2 separate regions of the Homo sapiens genome follow, and region 1 is linked to region 2. Evidence: promoter capture Hi-C in human tissues and cell types (Jung and others, 2019). All regions are on one chromosome and are shown on one strand. Each heading gives the region's core, a stretch centred on a gene start or on the middle of the fragment in contact. The rest is flanking DNA. Distances are from core to core; before and after follow the strand shown. Region 1 has its middle 51 kb from the start of CDH5. Region 2 holds the start of CDH5 (cadherin 5).

Evidence for each region. Contacts are between HindIII fragments. The study calls those that stand out against the background at their distance.
Region 1: a contact is called between a fragment that was not itself captured here and the fragment with the promoter of CDH5 in region 2, in 1 of the 25 tissues and cell types used here (spleen).

What each region holds. Positions count from the first base shown.
Region 1 is chr16:66,313,102-66,318,443 of GRCh38, reverse strand. No RefSeq gene overlaps it. Among named protein-coding and RNA genes, the nearest start is that of CDH5, 51 kb to the left of the region's middle. The HindIII fragment of the contact is 5,037 bases long and covers 664-5,342 here.
Region 2 is chr16:66,363,399-66,368,653 of GRCh38, reverse strand. CDH5 (cadherin 5) reads right to left here and starts at 1,963. Exons shown (of 12, transcript NM_001795.5): 1 at 1,896-1,963. It overlaps LOC105371318 (a long non-coding RNA gene), which reads left to right. Exons shown (of 3, transcript XR_933687.3): 3 at 3,727-4,474. RefSeq lists enhancers at 4-710, 1,521-2,070. The HindIII fragment of the contact is 33,771 bases long and covers 1-5,255 here.

The DNA of each region.
Region 1 (5,342 bases), core at 1,933-4,432, 51 kb after region 2:
ACTGCTGCCCCCTGACTTTTGGTTATCGATGATTCCTGGGTGTATGAAATTGGAGACTGTAACTGGCCTGCACGATGCCAAGAATACAGCTGGACCTCAGAAGGGGCTCATGTTCTTTGTCCTTCCTTCTGCTGCCAAGGTCTCCCCAGATCACTGTCTCTAAGTGGAGTGGATGTCCTCTCCTCTCCATCCGTCCACCCACCCACGTGTCACTCATCCTTGAGCATCCAGCTTATCATGGGCCTCTGGCACCACACTCCTTAGAATGCCCACCTCATGGAAACAATTCAAATGGGCAGCTCTCTGTTGCCACCTCCAGTGCCACTGACTTCATCCAGACCCTCCCCACATCTTCCCTTCTTGGACCACTGCAACGCCCTCTTCCTGCTCACTCAATCAACACAATTCTTTTAGTGTCAATCACTGTCCAGGCCAGATTAGGGTCCCAGAATATAGCACTTGCTCAAGCACTGCCCTGCTCTCCAGGAGCTCACAGACCAGGGGAAACGCATGTACACCAATGTTGAAAATACAGAGGTGAGAGCGAAGTACAGAGATGGATGCACTAGGTGTTGAGGAGAGCGGCCAGGAGAAGAGAACCCTTTTCTGTGCCTGGAGGTTAGTGGGGAGGGGACCCCACGGAAGCCTTCTCAGGGGAAAAACCCCTGAGCCAGAGTTTGCAAGCTGAATAGCTTTTTCCCAGCAGACAGCTTCATGGAAAGGAAGTGCATTGTAAAGAGAGGAAAGCCTGCGTGTAAATGTCTGGAGTGGTGACAGTGGACAATGTCGCAGGGAAGGGCACATTGACTGGCATGACTAGTGGGTGGAAGGGTGCAGGGCGGAGGTGAGCTTGGAGAGGCTGAGAAGGTGAGATCATAAGACACCTGCTACGTGAGGTCAGAAACTTGGGTTTTATCCTGAAAGCAAGAGGAGCTTTTGGAGGACTTGAGGATGGGGAGGGCAAGGTATTAAGTGCTCAGAACCCACCTGTGGCAGTTGTTAAGAGGGTGGATGAGGGTGGGTTTCTTTAGGATGAGGCCTATGGGGTGCTTTTCCAGTAGTAGCTGGTCCAGTCCTTACCCAAGGCAGGCAGAGGGTACGGCAAAGAGGTTCTGTCTGCATCTCCTCCCTCACCCAGGGCAGCTGCTGAGAGATCACCGGCCATGAGTAAGAACACAGTCATAGTCACGATCACAATCACCATCTGCACGGGGCAAACTGGTGAGCTTCATGGAGAGAGACATTGTGCCCTTCGGATGGCAACAAGTGGGACCCATGTCTGATGGGAACAGATGTGGTTGTGCATTGGCTGTGGTGAGCGGCTTTGGGATGAACCAGGGGCAAGGCTGGTGAGGTTGGAGGTAGAAGAGTGGACACTGCCTGTTTGGCACCTGGGAGTCGTGTGTGGTCACATAGACATGGGTTTGCTTCTGCCTCTGCAACTTCGCTCTTTGAATAAATTCCTTAATGTCTCCATGCCACAGTCTCCTCGTCTCTCACATAGGGTTCCTAAAAGCCTCTGTCACTGGAGTTTTGGGGGGCTTAAATGCCACAATGCATGTAAAGAAAGCGCTTGGCATGCAATCATGCCCCATGTATTCAGGATTCTGGGCCGTCTACCGAATCACCTCTAAAGCTTCTTATTGCTACTGCTGGCCTGGCCCTGCCTCTGGAAGCAGCCCAGCTGTTGGGCCCCCAGTTAGTGTAAGGCACAGATGTGGGAGCTGTTTTCCGAAAACCCATCACCAGTGCCTGGGCGCCTCCTCCCTCAATCTGCAGCAGCAGCAGCAGCAGCAGCAGGGTCCTGAGAAGGGCCTTGGCGAGGGTTATTTGTGCCTCTTCAGCAAAGGCCTTCCTGCTGCTGCTCTAGTTCAATGAAGATCACCCTCTGGCAGGTTTTCTGGGCCGTGCACAGGCAGTTAAGGAGCTGAAACTCCAAAGGCAATTTCTCCTCAAGGAGCTGTTTTGTGGGTGGTTCACTCTGCACCACTGCCATGGAGATGTTCCCTGCCCCAAGTCTGGCACAATTCACTGAGCCCAGGGCTCACTGGGCTGCCTGGGAGCTCCTCAACCAGGAAGGAGTGGGCCTGGCTCGGACAGAGAGGATGGGGCAAGGTCCTGACTATATTTCCTGCCCAGCCTGCAGGGAGTTGGGGGAAATTCAAGGGAGGCTCAGGCCCTTGAATAGCAGTACCAAAATTGCCCTCAAAAACAGTTTCTAGGTCGGGCGTGGTGGCTTATGTCTGTAATCCCAGCATTTTGGGAGGCCAAGGTGGGTGGACCACGAGGTCAAGAGATCGAGACCATCCTGGCGAACATAGTGAAACCCCGTCTCTACTAAAAATAGAAAAATTAGCTGGGCATGGTGGAGTGTGCCTGTAATCCCAGCTACTGGGGAGGCTGAGGCAGAAGAATGGCTTGAACCTGGGAGGCAGAGGTTGCAGTGAGCTGAAATTGCGCCACTGCACTCCAGCCTGGAGACACAGTGAGACTGTCTCAAAAAACAAAACAAAACAAAACAAAACAAACACTGTTTCTAAAAACCAGACAACTTTCCCTCTTACCTCCATGGCAAAAGGAGATGGCAAACGCTGCTAAATGCCTTAATAAGTGGCTGCTATTGGTTCAATGATGGCTATTAAAAACTATCAATTGTTTAGATACAGGAATATGGAGAAAAATCTTGTAAGAAGCACTTTTAAAGCCCACTTTGTGTCAATAGTAGTGTTGTTAATTTCCAACTTCCAGATCATATCGAAAGCATTGGTTATGAAAGTTCTTTGGGGGAAAAGGTCATTCATAAACATTCAGATTCTGAGTTAATGAATTTTCCATGGGTGTCTGCACAGACCCTCCCTCTGTCACTGACTGCCGTGGGCTGTCTCAGGCTGGGGACTGGTCCAGGAGCAGTGCCCGGAGGTCCTGGCTGGCTGGACTTGACCTTTCTCCTTCTCTGGCCAGAGGCCTCTCTTCCTGCTTTCAAGAAATGACTCCATACTGGCTGGGTGCTACTGCCTCTGATGGCCACTAGGGGGAACCAAGGTTCTCGGCAAAGGCTTCTCTCCCACAGCGTGAAACCCAAGGGGATTGTTCTGCATCAATGACTTTTCCCTCCCAGATTCTGAAAGAGGTGCTGAAACGGGAACCCAGTGGCTGGCTACTGGCCTGGTAGAGGTGGATAGTATTGAAGAAGCCCAATCTAGTTCTTAAAGCACAGTTATTATTTTTTTCTTTTTTTGAGACGGGGCTCTCACTTTGTCACTCTGGCTGGAGTGCAGTGGTGAAATCATAGCTTGTTGCAGCCTTAAACTCTTGGGCTCAAGCGATACTCCCACCTCAGCCTCCTGAGGAGCTGGGACTATAGGCACGCACCACCATGCCCAGATAATTTTTTAATATTTTTGTGGAGATGAGGGTCTCACCATGTTGCCCAGGCTGGTTTCAAACTCCTTTGTTCAAGCAATCCTCCAGCCTCAGCGTCCCAAAGTGGTGGGATTACAGGGGTGAACCACTTTATCTGGCCACAGTCAGAAGACACACAACCGACTTTAGTGTTATTATTATTTTTCTAAATTTGAGACAGAGTCTCACTCTATTGCCCAGTCTGGAGTGAAGTGGTGCAACCTTGGCTCACTGCAACCTCCGCCTCCTGGGTTCAAGCGATTCTCATGCTTCAGCCTTCCAAGTAGCTGGGATTATAGGCATGCGCCACCACACCCAGCTAGTTGTTGTATTTTTGGTAGAGACACGGTTTCGCCATGTTGGCCAGGCTGGTCTTAAACTCCTGGCCTCATGTGATCCGCCCACCTTGGCTTCCCAAAGTGCTGGGATTACAGTTGTGAGCCACTGTGCCCGGCCCACAACTATCTTTAAAATGACCGTTTCCAGGAAACCTTCTAGAGGGGTTCCCATGCCCACCTGTGACCCCTGCCCCAGGTCCTGGTCATTGTCTCTCCAGCAAGAAGGCAGCCGAGGGCTATATTCTGTGGCATCCTCCTCTTCTTCCTGTTCTTTACCCTGCTCTTAACACTTCTCACACCTTCATTTTATTAAACAACTCTGATCTGCAGGGAGCTGTACACTCAGTGCTGTGGGCATGGCACTGGGGGAACTGGAGGCTGATGGGGGAGAAAGAAGTACAAGAAATGACTCCTGCATTCAAGTGCTTTTCACCCAGTTTGGAGATGTAGGAATTTGATTCAAGTCATTGAACATTTGCTGAGTGCCCATTTGAGAAACAGTGGAATATTGGGAAAGAAAACAGATTTGGCAACTGACTTTCAACCTCAGCTTCATCTGGAGGGCCAGTGTGACGCTGTGTTACTGAAACCTGCTGGCTCTCTATTTCCTCATTTGCAAAATGGGGCCAGGCATCCCTAAGTGATCCACAGCCCTGTATCAACAGTCACCAGGGGATGGAAGAGAGAGGCTTTCTTTTCTTTTCTTTTTTATTCAGAGACAGGATCTTTCTCTGTCACCTAGGCTGGAGTACGGTGGCACAATCACGGCTCACTGCAGCCTGGAACTTCTTGGCTCAAGCGATCCTCCCATCTCAGCCTCCTGAGTAGCTGGGACTCCAGGCGAAAGCCACCATGCCTGGCTTATTTTTTAATTTTTTGTAGAGATGGGGTCTCATCATGTTGCCCAGACTGGTCTTGAACTCCTGGCTTCAAGTGATCCTCCTGCCTTGGGAGAGAGGCTTTCTTAACCTCTAGGTAAGCGTCACCTCCTTTGTGAACCTCTCCAATCCCTTTCCCTGCAAGTTAAGCAACAATTTCCTTGTCTGTCTTCCAGACCTTTGTTGTAGCCCAGTTAGAGCTGTCTGGGGTGCACTGCCATTATTTGTCATTGAACTGAGAACTCCATCAGAGCAGGGATGGTGGAGATGCCTGATTCCTGCCTAACTGGCTCACAGCCTGGCACTTTTTCAGGGAATATCAGCAGATGCTGGGATGAAGGGAGAGGTAGAAACAGCTTCCTTCTTTCCCGTGTGGGCCCCTTTGCAGACGGTGGTGCCATTCAGATGTGTGGGGACTCAGGGTATGATATTCGGGTGTGTGCGTGGACACTGGTTGTGGTCTTGGGCCTTGGGGTCACTTTGAGGGAGAGCCTGACTATCGAGCACTTGGCCATAGGGCCTGGGCAGTAGACACATGGCGTTGAACCCTGGAATTCCAGGACAGGATGGAGAAACATTTTCCACTGGTGGCCAAATGGCACTGTAGGTGGATGAGTCCTGGGGGATGCTATTAGGAGTCTAGGCACGGTGCTTACAGTGCTGGGTCACAGGTGAGAAAGAGATCCCTCTGGCATCTCCATCAATCCTGTCTTTTTTTTTTTTT
Region 2 (5,255 bases), core at 714-3,213:
CTTCAGTGTGACTGAGGGGGTGCAGAGAGAGGATACAGGGAACAGTCATGGGTCCATGTGGGCAAAATGAGCCTAAGATTCTTCCTGGGATGGTGTCCCCTCTGTCCCCTGGGTGTCCCCAAGTCAGCAGTGAATCATCCAACTTTGCAGAAAATGTGTGGCCCCTGCTGGCTTCCTGCCCTCATGTCCGGCCCTTGTTTGGCAACACAATAGCTCAGGCTGAGGCTGCAGGCGGGCAGCTTAACCCCTTCCAGGCCAGTATACACCTCCCCTACCCCTCACCACCATAAGCTGAAATTGGTAGGGCTGCTCAGGGGCTCAGCAGCTCTTGGGCCCCTTGGTGGATACCTGCTGCTCTCTAGGGCAGGCAGAGGAGAGTCCCAGGCTTCCCACCACCTGAGGATGGACCAGGGCTTCTGGCCCTGGCTCCAGTGGCCTGTGGCAAAAGAGCCTTCCAGGTACACCCTCGACTCCTCAAAGCTGCCTCCCTGGGAATGCCCTTCCTCTCTTGTCAGAATCCTATCTGCCCATCACACATGAGAAACGTCCACGCTGGGGAGGGAGCCTGACATGGAGCAGAGGCCCAGAGGTGCTCGCGATGTCCTCTCACTTGCACCCCCTTCCTCGTACCTGCTGGGCACCTGAGGACCCCTCCGTGATGGGGTTTGACCATACCTCAAGGGCCAAAATCTTTATCACATTCACAACCAGGATCGGCTCTGTGCTAGCTGGTAAATCCAGCCACTATTCCTTAAAGATCTCATGTTATGTGCCATTCCCAGCACCAGGGATGTAGCTCACTTCACTCAATTGACTGAGGAAACACTGTTTCCCCATTTCACAGATGAGACACTTGAGACCTGGGGAGAGCTGGGGCTTTGGAGTACGAGATCCTGGTTCAAATCCCCACACCAGCTCATATGTTTCCAAAGCTCAGTTGCTTTCACTGAGATATAAAGAAAGAATGTATCTACCTTGTGGAGTTGTTAATGGTAAAATAATGAGCCCCACACCATCCCTTGTTCCCCACTGTGGTTTGGAAACTCTGGGTAACTTTCCCAAGGTCACCCCAGAGCAAATGGGAGAGCTGGGATCTGTACCCAGGGCAGCTGTCTCCAGGCCAGGCTCTTGGCCCAGACCTCCTGCTTCTGGGGGACTTCCTGGGCTGTGGGGGCCTTGGGGCTCTTATGCTCTAGCCTTTGAAAGGGTGCTGGTGGGAGGAATGGTGGACCGCTGTCCAGACTACAGCTCCCTTGACACATAGTGGGCCCCGATGGTGTTTGGGCAGGGAAAGGCCCAGAGGGAAAGGCAAGACCTCAAGTGCCCAGAGCCAAGCCTCAGCTTGCCTATCCTGAAATGGGGGCACTGGCTGACCGAGAGGGGCCAAGGCTCGGAGCTTCCTTTTCAGGGCCCCTCCCCAGATCCCAGCATAGAGCTTTAGTGGCGTATGGGTAGGGGGCTGAGGAGGCTGGTGTCAGGCCTTGGTAAATCCTCTCCAGTAAGGGTAAGGCACCGAGGGGAGGCCAAGGCCTGGGTGCCAGTCCTCTGCCCCGGCATGCTGGGCAACTGGGGCAGAATACTGCCCTCTCTGAGCCTGGCACTGATGAAGGCCAGTGGGCCTTTTTGAGTTGGAGAATACACTTCTGGGAGAGCCAAGCCCTTGCCCTGCCCCCCTCAGCCCCGAGATGCCCATTTGTGCCCTTGGCACTACCTCTGGGTGCACCTTCCCCGACCCTGCTCTGAGCCACGAGGAGGCCCAGCGTGCCCTCGAGGAGCCTCTCTGTCATGGGAGTGGGACGATGCCCATTCTACAGATGGGGAAGCTGAGGACCCTCCCATCTTGGGCGCAGGGTGGCGGGTTTGGGGTGGAGGGGAGTGTGGGAGCCCCCACTCACCGTGCCTGTGGGCTGAGGGATGTTTCTGTTCCGTTGGACTGCCTGTCCGTCCAGGGCTGAGCGTGAGTGGAGCTCTGTGGAGCCTGTCAGCCGACCGTCTTTGGAGGGGAGCCACACCCCGCTGGCGAGGGAGGCCTGGCTGCCTCCCCTTCAGGTTTTCCAGCTGGCCCTGGCCCACTTCCCCCTGGGATGGTTTCCTGTTATTGTTCCTTTGTGAGGGCTGGGCTGGCTGCAGATAGGCAGGCCCTGCGGTGGGCGGCTGCCTCGGCCCCGGATGGCTGTCTCCACAGAGGGCTGGCACTGGACCCTGCCTGGGGCACCCCACTTGAACCCCTACTCCCGGCCTCAGCTCTGGGACTCTGAACCCAGCACCTGCAAAGAGCCTGGCTGTGGGGACCCTTGGCTGCAGCATCACATTTAACCCTCCTTGGAATGCTACAGGCAGGTGTCATCACCCCCATTTTATAGCCCGGGAAGCTGAGGCTCAGCGGGTTTAAGGTGCTTGTCCACCCAGCTGGGGTATAAAAGAGCCAAAAATCTAGCTGGGGTCAGCCTAGCCCCAGAGCTTGATTTTCTGTGGTGATCCCATGATGTCTTTGTGGGAATGGACTTTAAAGGTGACAGGGAGGCTTCAGGAGATGGGAAAGGGACAGAAGCTCTTGGCTCTGGAGGACCAGGTTGGCTTCTCCTGGTCAGAGCGGGCATGGACTCCAGCTCTAAGGTGCCAGCCTCGGTCTGTAGGGGATGTTTGCATTTAGGGATATTGGGTGGAGTCAAGTGACCCAGCTCTGCTTCTGATGTGACCTCTGGCCAGTTGTGTCATCCTGGAGCCACAGTTTCCTCATCTGTAAAATGGGGATAATCACAGCCTCATCCTCACAAGGCTTTTGACATAAACGAGAATCAAAGAGGGGCGTGGAAGACAGTGACGCTGAGGCTGGATCAGAGCCCAGAAGAACCAAGAGGCTGGGGGGAAGGGAGGGGCCAAGATTCTGCTGACCAGGAGAGACATAGGAGGAGCTTCTAAAAACTACAGAGGACTGGGCTCACCCCAGATCAACTGATTTGGAATCTCCCAGGGCAGATCCTGGGAATCTGTCCTTTGAAGAGTTGCTTCTGTTTTTCCATGGGTGAATGGTTGGGAAGTCCCAAACTTGTTTTATTATATAGCTGGGCAAGCAGAGACCCTGAGAAAGAGAGGGCCCAGGGCCGTTTAGTAAATCAGAGCACAAGATGGGGAGTGTGATGGAAGGATATTTTTGGAGGAGGAGGGGATAGTGATTCCTCTGTCTCAGGCAGGTTGAGTTTGAGATGCTCGTTAGATACCCAGGTGGAGGTGTCAGGCTGGTGGGGGAGACAGGGGTGAGTCCAGCCTGGAGTCGAGGTTTGGAACCCAACAGCTTATGGCTGGCATCTGAGGCCATGGGCATGGATGAGCTTGGAGGGAGGGAGGACTTGGACCCTCTGACATTTGGGGATCCATTAGAAGAGGGTCCCATGATGAAGGAGGAATGCCAGGAGAGGGCAGAGGAGGAGGGCAGGGGAGTAGTCAGTGGGTCAGCCTGGGGAGCATGAGGGCTGAGACTTAACTTTGGATTTGGAAGATGAGGTCATCAATGACTGTGACCAGAACAGGTTAAACAGGAAAAGGTAGACAAGACAGATTGGAGGGGCTAGAGAAAGGGGAGAAAGGGGGACGGGGATGTGGAGTCACGTGTGACTGTAGCTTCTTCCCCAAGTCTTACAGTGAATGGGAGCAGAGAAGTGGGAGGGTTTTTTTTTTTTTTTTTTTTTTTTTTTTTTAACTATGGCAGCACGCTCATGTCCCCAGGGAGCATCCAGCAGACGGGAAGACAGATGATGCTGGAGACTGAGGAGCGACCTGCTGGAAGGAGAACAGTCCTTGGGGCGGAATTCTGAGTGGGATCCAACACATTCAACAGCCGATTGTGGAATGAACAAACAACAGCTCAGCGCTTCCTTCTCCAATGGGATTAACTCTGCTTTCTCCTGCCCAGAGGGGGGGTTGGCCGCAGAGGAGCCAGGACAGTGCTCTGTCCCCTGTGTTCCAGTCCACATCCCCCTCACCCCCGCCTGTCCTCATGGTCTACGTGCCCATGGGGATACACTGGCCTGTGCATTGCTTCCTGCTGGGTCTCAGACTCGGGGCTGTGGCAGATGGGGACAGGGCCTGTCCTGGCACCATCTGCCAATTCCCTTTGTACTCCCAGTCCATGAGGAAGTTGACTCTGCCCTGAAAACGACTGTTCCTGTGGTCCATAAACAAAGGAATGGTGAGCCAGGCATGAGCTGTGGGCCCCAGGGGTGGGGCTGGGGGTCACCGTAGCAGAGGTAGCTGAGACTGTGGGAGGGAGGCTGGTGCCTCCTTGGTCCCCCTGAGGATTTCATGCCTGATTTCTGGCACTGCCCAGCCTCTGCTCCAACCTCTCTGGAGGCAAAGGAGGTAACAGGAGGGCACAAGGCCAGGAAGTGTCATTGGGAGCAAGGAAGGCGGCTGGTGGGCTAGCAGGAAATGGGATGGTCTGTGAGACCAGATTAGTAGCAGAGGAGGAAGCAACAGTGGAGGCAGTGGGGGTGGGATGGCGGGTGGGACGACAAGGCCTGGGGACGCCCACCTGGCCTCTGCCAGGAGGAAGCCTGACCCGACAGGGAGCGCTGCTTGGGGAGGTACAGGTGTGGGGGTTGCAGACCCAGGTTTGGATCCTAGCATGACCCGTTGCTGCCTGCATGACCTGGGCAGCCGACTTGCCTCTCTGAGCTTCTTTCCTCACCTGTGAAATGAGTTATCTGTTCAGACTTTGCAGGCCGTTTGGAAGATGAAATGAGACAATGAAAATAAATGACAGGACCAGCAAGCCTTATCGAGTGGCTGTTTCTCAAAGTGTGGTCTTCAAGCCATCCATCCTGGGAGAGGGGGAGTGAATATGCAGATTTCTTGGGCCCCACTCCAGGCTGATGGGGTCAGAATGGCTGGTGATAGAATCCCAGGACTTATGTGTTTGTAGCTCCCCAGGAAACGTGTTTGTGTTGTTACATTTGAGGACCACAGCCTTTGTGTCTGCTGCTAATGCACTAAGCTCTCCTTGGGACTCCTCATTCAAACCTCAGGACAACCCTGCGGGGGTGGTACTACTGTTAGGCCCATTTTACAGATGGGAAAACAGAGGCTGGGAGTGAAAGCCTTTCTGAGATCAGAGTTTGTCAGTGGTGGGGCGGAAATTCCGAGCCACGCTTCTGTTTCCAGAGCCCAGCTCCTTACCCAGGGAGCTTTCCTGCCCTGCTGTAATTGAGTCGGGACACAGCAGGGGTTCCCCAAATAAGACTTCCTTTTCCTTCCTC